Linked DNA regions of Homo sapiens: region 1 is linked to region 2. Evidence: promoter capture Hi-C in 16 types of primary human blood cells and fetal thymus (Javierre and others, 2016). All regions are on one chromosome and are shown on one strand. The core of a region is centred on a gene start or on the middle of the fragment in contact, and the rest is flanking DNA. Distances in the headings are between cores, read along the strand shown. Region 1 holds the start of FUS (FUS RNA binding protein). Region 2 holds the start of GTF3C1 (general transcription factor IIIC subunit 1).

Region 1 (4,446 bases), core at 1,810-4,309, 3.6 Mb after region 2:
CGCGGTTCTGCCTATTATAGCCTTTCCTCCCTTGCTGCTTGGCAAACTTCTACTTATCCAGTAAGCCTTGGCTTCAGGGTTACCATCTCTCTTTAGTGTTCTGTGGTTGTCCACCTGATGGATGACTTACTCTGCTGGCAGGGTTTCCAGTCTTTGATTCCATGTGATGGCACTTACTACACTCAAGTACACTTTGTGGTCTGTGTGTCTCACCCACATTCACCCACTGGCTGGTCCTGTGGTTTAGGAACTGAGCTTTTTTTTATCCATATCCATCCAGTCGGCCCCATGATTGGAACATACTATGCAGTGCTCAGGCAATGTTTGCTGAAGCGCAGGGGTTAAGAGCAGGCTACCTGGCTTGGGAACCCAGCTTTGCCACTTCCTGTGTAGCTTCAGCATAACTTTCCGTCTTTCTTTTTTTTTAGAGACAGAGTCTTGCTCTACTCTATCATCCAGGCTGCAGTGCAGTGGCGCGATCTCGGCTCACTGCAACCTCTGCCTCCGGGGTTCAAGCAATTCTCCTGCCTCAGCCTCCTGAGTAGCTGGGACTACAGGTGCGCGCCACTATGCCTGGCTAATGTTTGTATTTTTAGTAGAGACGGGGTTTCACCATGTTGGTCAGGCTGGTCTCGAACTCCTGACGTTGTGATCTGCCCTCCTTGGCCTCCCAAAGTGCTGGGATTACAGGCGTGAGCCACCGTGCCCGGTCAACTGCCTGTCTTTCTATGCTTATTTCCTCATCTGTAAAATGTCATCCTTAGCAGGGCGTGGTGGCTCACACCTGTAATTCCAGCAATTTGGGAGGCCAAGGCAGATGGATCATCTGAGGCCAGGAGTTCGAGACCAGCCTGGCCAACATGGTGAAACCCCGTCTCTACTAAGAATACAAACATTAGCTGGGTGTGGTGGCGCACACCTGTACTCCCAGCTACTTGGGAGGTTGAAGTTGTAGAATCACTTGAACGCGGGAGGCACATGTTGCAGTGAGCCGAGACGGCGCCCCTGCACTCCAGCCTGGGTGACAGAGTGAGACAGTGTCCCCCCAAAAAAAAAAAAGATAAAATGTCATCCTCACATCAGCCTTTTGTTGTGAAAAATAAAATCAAGAGTTTACTCAGTCAGAACAGGGCCTGACAGTAAGTCTTGTTAAAGTGTTAGCTATTACATATTATAGATGAGCACAATGTATATCATTATTAAATGTCAGCTTTATTATTATTATTTGTTTTGAGACAGTCTTGCTCTGTTGCCCAGGCTGGAGTGCAGTGGCACGTCTTGGCTCACTGCAACTTCCGCCTCCTGGGTTCAAGCGATTCTCCCATCTCAGCTTCCTGAGTAGCTGGGATTACAGATGCGCGGACGACGCCTGGCTAATTTTTGTATTTTTAGTAGAGACGGGGTTTCACCATGTTGGCCAGGCTGGTCTCGAACTCCTGACCTCGTGATCCACACGCCTCGGCCTCCCAAAGTGCTGGTATTACAGGCGTGAGCCACCGCACCCGGTCAGCTTTATTATTAAATGTTAACTTCATCTGCTTTGTACACGAATGCATACCCAGTGCCCAGAACAGTGCCTGGAACATACTAGGTGCTAAATAAATATTTGTGACTTAATGCATGAATAAGGGTGGACTTCCTTTCTTTTGCTCTCACTGGAGAGTTGAACTCTCCTTCCAAAGGCGGTGGGGTGGATATTGGCATATTCAGGGCCTTTAGGGCTGAAGTCAAGGGCTTAGTGGGGCTTAATTTGTGGGCGGGCCCAGGGCATGGCCCTCATTGTTTCTCTAGAAAGACGTGTCCAACCCTCAAAGGACCTTCTGAAATCCCGCTGAAAGGTTAAGTTGGGAAGGAAAACCTGCATGCCTATGTATCAGGAATTAACGTCTTTTGTCTTGTTTTATTCAGTAGTTTCAAATTGCCTTCTCCAGGCAAGGCTGATGAAAGTGCAAGTTGCAAGTTAATTTGAATGTTTCTTTTTGCTTTTGCTCTCACAGGAAGTGAAAAGGCGACCAAACACTCTAGCATTCATGCCACCAAAAAGAGGAGTGTTTTGCAGTTACAAGACCTGGATTCGAATCACGACTCCTCTTAGCTGCCCTGTAATCAGGCACAATTACTTGGGTCTCTGAGTCTCACTTTCCTTATCTAGAAAACGGAGGTATCTTTACTTCCTTCGTAAGACTGATGACAAGGAAATTATCTGTGCATTTTGAAACCACTTAAGCCTTGTACACGTTTTATTTCTGGGATCGCCCTGGTAGGGCTTCAGAAAAATAAAAAGGAGGTCCCTGAGAAAAGGCTGGGTACCGTACATCTGAGGTCAACCCTCTCTGGTCCCAAGGATGGCCTGGGCTGTTCCGCCCCGTGGCTCCCCAGGGGCAAAGCCATGAGGATCCGGGTGAGAGCCCAGTGCTGGACGAGCCCGGGGCCCAGGGGTCCCGGCCGAAATCCCTGCTGTCTTTCAGGTCAAACGTCATAATCCCCGAACCCCAGAAAGGCCGAAAGGCAAGGCAACCCTGAAAGACGACGAAGTCAACCTCAGGGCGCAGGAGAGGGAGGGCCAGTGTGCTGCCGACGAGGGAGGCTGGAGCCGCGGGGACGAGGCGCCCCATACAGCGGCAAGAGGGTGGAGGGCAGGAGCTCGCCATCCTGGGTGAAAGCGGGGCCCAGCGAAGGGGCCCGGCCACAGGAATCTCGGTTCCACCCCGCTACTCCCGGCTGTGACTCCAGTTTCGTCCCCAGCCGCCGGGACCGCCCCCTCGCCCCGCCCCCAGCGGGCACTCAGGCCGTACCACTGTGCCTTCATGGGGGTGGAGATAGATCGTGGGCTAGTCCTGCCGAGGAGAGAGGGGTTCTTCCTCAAAAAATATGATTATGTATAGTATTCGCATGATTCTAGTTAACTTGTTTCCCTTCTGCCTGCTCGGACCCTCTACCTGCCCTACGAAGGGGGCGGAGTGCGTTCCTGCCTCCCCCTGCTCTTCCGCGTTTGGTGCGCGCCTGCGCGGTGCGTAGGCGGCGGAGCGTACTTAAGCTTCGACGCAGGAGGCGGGGCTGCTCAGTCCTCCAGGCGTCGGTACTCAGCGGTGTTGGAACTTCGTTGCTTGCTTGCCTGTGCGCGCGTGCGCGGACATGGCCTCAAACGGTAGGTAAGGGCGCGAGGCGACGGCGGCGGCGCACCCGGCCGAGGCCTCCCAGCTGGGCTTTTCGTTTTCAGTGGGACCGGGGCGGCGATCCCGTGTGGGATTTTTTGGCGCCCCTGTGGCGGGAAGCCGCGGAGAAGAGTAACTGGAGGAGGCTGGTGTCGCCATTTTGTTTCGCTCCTCTGGCCCTCGCGCGCGGGGCGGGAAGTCTTTTCTTTGCAGTCCGTTTGCTTGGGGTGGGCGTTGGGAGGGACGCTTCTTAGGGGTTTGAAGCGTCAGGTGAGGGTGGAAAACGCCCATTCTCCGTGGCCTCGCCTCCCCCAACTCCCGGCCCCGCGCTCGAGCCCGCTTTGTCGCAGTGCTGCATCCGGGCACTCGCGGCGCGCACGCGCTCTGCGGGCCCCTCCCCCTTCGCGGCGCGGGTACCCCTTCCCCGCCTCGTGTTGGTTCAGCTTTCTGTCGCGAGACCCTTCGCGGAAGACTCGGCGGCGCGCGTCCGGTGTGAGCCTTGTCCCTCAGTGGTCCTTCGCGAATGGGCGGGATCGCTCCGTTCCCGCCTGGGTTGCCACGCGGCTGGGGGCGGAGGCTCGGGATCGGGGCCGCCCTCTAGCTTAACGGTTTGGCGGCGGTGGTCAGGGTTCGACCAACGGACTTGGGGACGGCCCGAGAGTTTTTCCCGCCTAAATTTCTTTCTTTTTTTTTTTGGAGACACGGTCTTCCTCTGTCGCCCAGGCTGGAGTGCAGTGGTGCGATCTCAGATCACTGCAACGTCCACCTCCTGGGTTCAAGTGATTCTTCTGCCTCAGCCTCCTGAGTAGTTGGGATTATAGGCGCCCGCCACCACAGCCCGGCTAATTTTTGTGTTTCTTAGTAGGGGCGGGGTTTCACCATGTTGGTCAGGCTGGTCTCGAACTGCTGACCTCAGGTGATCCGCCCGCCTGGGCCTCCCGAAGTGTCGGGATTACAGACGTAAGCCAACCACGCCTGGTCTAAATTTCTTTTTTCTGAGATAGGGACGGAGAAGAACGGCCGCCCGAGGCCACACCCTCTCCTGGTCCTCTTTCCCTTTTCCTGCGGGGGAAGCGCCGCGTTTCCTGTGCTGGGAGGATGAGTTGATCTTGTTCGTGTATCTTAAGTGGGGCTTTTCAAAAGCGCTTTTGTTGCTTTTTGTTCGCTGGGGGAAGGCAGGGTAGGTGAGAAAACGGAACCATCTGGAGTCCCAGGGCTGGGGACTCGAGTACCTGTTGACTTTCGCCTCCTAAGGCGAGCAGTTGCATGATCTCTGTCATTTGGGGTCCAA
Region 2 (4,870 bases), core at 146-2,645:
ATTATCGCTAATTGTCCTGATACGCAGATCTCGAGTTGCCCTAGGCTATCTGCACCGAATGAATATACCATGAGGGTCTGTTGATCTCAGGAGTCTCCAGTCTGGCTCTAAAGTGTCTTTCCTGCTCTAATCCTATCCTCCAATGTAAAGGAAACATTCTTTTAAGCCTGAAGAATATCCCCAATCCTGTTCGCCATTACCCCAAAACACACACAGGGACAAAACGGGACATCACTAGATTCTCCCCCTCCCCCCGCCAACTCCATCGGACTCCAGGGCCCTGCCAGGCCTGAGGGACCCCAGATTAGCCTTACCGCCGTGCCCCAACTCAATCAACAGGCCTCCGGTACTTGCACAGCCCCACTCCATTCCCCCGCCCTGCCCCCAGCTCCATCAGCCCCCGGGCCCTGCGCCCGCCCGCCCGCCCGCCAGGCCAGGCCGCCCGCTGACCGGTCCTGGAGCTGTAGGTCGGGTCGCTCCCGAGGCTCCTCATAGAAGCTGATGCCCGGGTGCGTGGCGAGGGCCCGCCAGAGAAACTCCTGCGTGCAGGGTTCCAAAGGCAGCGGGAAGGGCGGCACTCGCGTCTCCAGCCGGCTCCACAGCGCTGGCAGACACAGGCCATCGAGCCCCTCCAGAGCGACTTCGTCCAACAACGACTCCAGCGCGTCCATTGCTACTTCAGTCGGCGGCGCCCGGGGCGCATGCGCAACGCACCGCCAAGGGCCTTGGTCCATCGCGCCTGCGCACAACGATCCGGGGCCCGGGGAGGTGGGTCAGACCCAGGGTTCGGAGGAGGAGTTCCAGCGCGCCGGCATGACGTCACTCCCCGGGGGCGGGCTCAGTAAGTGGAGCTCCACCGTCATTGGTCCGGGGCCCCGCAGTAACCAGGGGAACTGCAAACAGTGTAGAGGCCGCTTCCGGTTCGAGCTCCCGGAACCGCCGCCTCTAGGGATGGACGGTGAGTGTCTGTGGGCCCCTCCGGGAGGTCGGGCTGTTATTCTCCCATCCCTCCCGACCGCGCTTTGGGCAGAATCCTAGGCCATGAACCCCTGGACCACCACTTCCTGACCCAAGGGGGTCTCCGAAATGAGGGATAGGGAGGCTTAGTGGTCTGGAACGCGGAGGAGAGCCTGGGGGAGTGGTCAGTGCTGTGACCATTCTGCTCGGCTGTGGTCGTGAAGGAAACCGGTACTGGCCGGGAGCTCAGTGAAGGGATGTAGGGTGGGGAAGGAGAAGTAGAGGTCTGAGGAGGGTCTTGTGAATGTTGGGATGTGGAACTGTCGGATTTGGGAGTTGATATGAAAACAAGCTTGATCGTGGGAGTGCAATCGTCAGGTGCTGGGAAAGGGAATTGGTGTGGGGGGTGAAGGGAGTTTAGGAAATACTCCCTTTCTGTGCCTTGGCGTTAATAATAATAGCTCCCTTTAACAAAGTGCTTTCCAGTACCAAGAACTCTGTAAGTACTCTTGGGCAACACCTCGCTAAGCTTCATACCAGCCTTTTGAGTTCAGCGTTGTTCCATTTTACAGATGATGAAACTGAGGCTCAGAGGTGTTAAGGAACTTGCCCAAAGTCAAACAACCAGCATGTAGCAGAGTGAGTGAGAAACCCAGACACCCTGTCTCTGGAGCTGAATTATGGAGCTTGAGATTTGGACCGGTTTTGAGGGTCCCTTTATTCCAGAGGTTGTAAATGCAGATGTCTGCAGAGGAGAGTCTAGTGAGCCGGATTGAGGCTGTAACTGAAAATCAATTCCTCACCTGAAAGGAAAGCTGCTCACCAAGCACCAGCTGATTGTCCTCTTGGGGTACTTCTCAAAAACAGGGTTGGCCAGTCACTCTGAAGGCCAGAGACAGCTTGTGGGCCCCCATTTAGGGATCCCTGATTAGAGTCATGGTATTGACAATTGGAAGCAAATGGAAAATAGGCTATTCTGATATCTCACTTTGCAGATGGGAAGACTAAAGTCTAGAGAGACTGGTAGGGTCTGGGCTAGAGTCCAGATCATTTTTCTAATTACAGCACTGTCCCTCACTTCTCGGGAATTTGTTCCTGGGGAATCCACATTCTTTTTATATTCACTGAATGTAGTGTGGAGAAAATGTTTTTAATTGAACATTCTGTCATATGCTTAAAATATATCTTTTCCCTTTGTACTTTAGAGGTACTATAAAATGTGCTTTACCATTTTGCCTTCTGGAAAGGTCAATGTAATGTTGCTATAGAACATCAGTCCTCAAACCTTTTAAGCCTTGGGACCCCTGTATGCTCTTACCTCAAAGAGCTTTGTTTATTTATATTTATGATATTTACCATATCGAAGATTTAAACTGGGAAAATCTTAAGATGTCCATTAATTAGTTCCTTTAAAAATAATAAAAATTGGGCCGGGCATGGACTCGTGCCTGTAATCCTAGCACTCTGGAAGGCCAAGGCAGGTGGATCACTTGAGGTCAGGAGTTCGAGACCAGCCTGGCCAACATGGTGAAACCTTGTCTCTACTAAAACTTAGCCGGACGTGGTGACACATGTCTGTAATCCCAGCTACTTGGAAGGCTGAGGCAGGAGAATCATTTGAAGCCGAGATCTTGCCACTGCACTCCAGCCTGGGCAACAGGGCGAGACTCTGTCTCAAAAAAACCCAATAATAATAATAATAATTGGCCAGGTGCAGTGGCTCATAATAATCATAATAATAATTGGCCATGTGCAGTGCCTCACACCTGTGATCCCAGCAGTTTGGGAGGCTGAAGTGGGTGGATTGCTTGAGCTCAGGAGTTCAAGACCAGCCTGGGCAACATAGCTAGACCCTGTCTCAAAAAAACTCCAACAACAATAAACCCATTACTTCTGAACATAAATAATATTTTTAATGGAAAACAATTACATTTGCCTCCAAAAAATTAATAGGAAGAGTAGCATTATTTTATGTTTTTTCAAGTTTATTCAATAGAAATAGAAAAAACTACTCTCATTTCTGCTTCAGGATTCAAACTGTTTTTTGTTATGCTGTTTTGGCTGGTGTGTATGAAGAAAATTTGGCCTCATACAAATATATAATTGGAGCAGAGAGAAACATTTTAATTGCCTTTTCAGATAACTGTAGACACTCTCCTTTCATACTATACAAAATTTAGCAAATGCCAGTTTCTTTTTTCTTTTTTTTTTTTTTTTTGAGAAAAAGTCTCACTGTCGCCCAGGCTGGAGTGCAGTGGCACGATCTCAGCTCACTGCAACCTCTGCCTGCTGGGTTCAAGCGATTCTCCTGCCTCAACCTCCCGAGTAGCTGGGATCACAGGTGTGAACCACCATGCCCAGCTAATTTTTTTTATTTTTAGTAGACATGGGGTTTCCCCATGTTGGCCAGCTGGTCGCAAACTCCTGACCTCAGGTGATCAGCCTGCCTCCATTTCCCAAAGTGCTGGGATTACAGACGTGAGCCACCATGCCTGGCCTGCAAGTGGCAGTTTTTTTTTTTTTTTTTTTTTTTTGAGACGGGAGTTTTGCCGTCGTTGCCCAGGCTGGAGTGCAATGGCCTGATCTCGGCTCACCGCAACCTCCGCCTCCCGGGTTCAAGCGATTCTCCTGCCTCAGCCTCCCAAGTAGCTGGGATTACAGGCATGTGCCACCACGCTCAGCTAATTTTGTACTTTTAGTAGAGATGGGGTTTCTCTATGTTGGTCAGGCTGGTCTCAAACTGCCAACCTCAGGTGATCCGCCCGCCTTGGCCTCCCAAAGTGCTGGGATTACAGGCATGAAGAACCATGCCAGGCCACAAGTGGCAGTTTCTTAAATGTTAGTCACAGTGTGTCATCTGAAGCCTTATAGGTGAACTTTTATACTGTGTTACATTAAAATCCATTGGTCTATCTTGCCCTTTCATTGGCTGCTTTACCCATATATGGTTTTATAACATCAGCCATTGGTCGTTTAGAAAATGTTGGTTCAGTGAGTTATGCAAATCTAAACGTTGACCTTTCAGATGCCATTATACGGTATTTAAAAAATCACATTTGTTAATATCACCACCTATTTCATTTTAAAAAGGAGTTTAAGTATTAGGAAACTATCAAACTCAAGGTAATGGAAACAAGTTTTCAACTTGTTTTCACTTGACAGCTTGAATTTTAACATTGGCAGCAAATATTGTCAGCTGTTTCCTTGAAGTGACAGACTCACTTATTTCATATTTGAGAAAATTTCTGCCAAATTCCCAAGACTGAATAACCAAAATTTGTCTATTATTTTATTTACTGCCATGTACTCACATTTAAAACAAACAAACAATTATTTTTATTTAAGAATGTCCTGATGGTTGGGTTCAGTGGCTCACGCCTATAGTCCCACCGCTTTGGGAGGCCAAGACAAGAGGATCTCTTCAGCCCAGAAATTCAAGACCAGCTTCGTCAACATAGTGAGACTCCATCTCTACTAAATAAATAAATAAAATAAATAAATAAATAAATAATAGTCAGGCATGGTAGCATGCACCTGTGGTTCTAGCTGCTAAGGAGACTGAGGTGTGGGGATCACTTGAGCCCAGGAGGTCAAGACCAGCCTGGGCAACTTAGTGAGACCCCATCTCTGTAAAAAGTAAAAAATTAGACAGGTATAGTGGCTCGTGCCTGTAGTCCCAGCCACTCAGGATCAGTTGAGCTTAGGAGGTTGAGGCTACAGTGAGCCATGACTGTGCCACTGCACTCCAGCCTGGGCAAAAAGACCTTGTCTAGAGAGAGAGAGAGCAGGGGGTGGGGTGGGGGGAGAGAGGAGAGAGAAAGGAAGGAAGGAAAGAAGGGAGGGAGAGGAGAGAGAAAGGAAGGAGGAAAGAAGGGAGGGATGGAAGAAGGGAGGGAGGAAGGAAGGAGGGAAG

The links. The method cuts DNA at HindIII sites, captures the fragments that hold promoters and counts their contacts. A CHiCAGO score of 5 or more calls a contact.
Region 1: the fragment with the promoter of FUS here is called in contact with a fragment that was not itself captured in region 2 in 1 of 17 cell types (fetal thymus); the score reaches 11.8 in fetal thymus.

Annotation. Positions count from the first base shown.
Region 1 is chr16:31,177,080-31,181,525 of GRCh38, forward strand. It overlaps FUS (FUS RNA binding protein), which reads left to right and starts at 3,060. Exons shown (of 15, transcript NM_004960.4): 1 at 3,060-3,148. The coding sequence starts at 3,136. RefSeq lists enhancers at 1,946-2,005, 2,297-3,057, 2,516-2,585, 3,058-3,819, 3,820-4,446 and 4 more and silencers at 2,746-2,815, 3,456-3,605, 3,726-3,775. The HindIII fragment of the contact is 6,651 bases long and covers 3,036-4,446 here.
Region 2 is chr16:27,549,220-27,554,089 of GRCh38, forward strand. GTF3C1 (general transcription factor IIIC subunit 1) reads right to left here and starts at 694. Exons shown (of 37, transcript NM_001520.4): 1 at 451-694. The coding sequence starts at 671. It overlaps KATNIP (katanin interacting protein), which reads left to right and starts at 925. Exons shown (of 28, transcript NM_015202.5): 1 at 925-958. The coding sequence starts at 952. RefSeq lists enhancers at 591-670, 681-790. The HindIII fragment of the contact is 177 bases long and covers 1,308-1,484 here.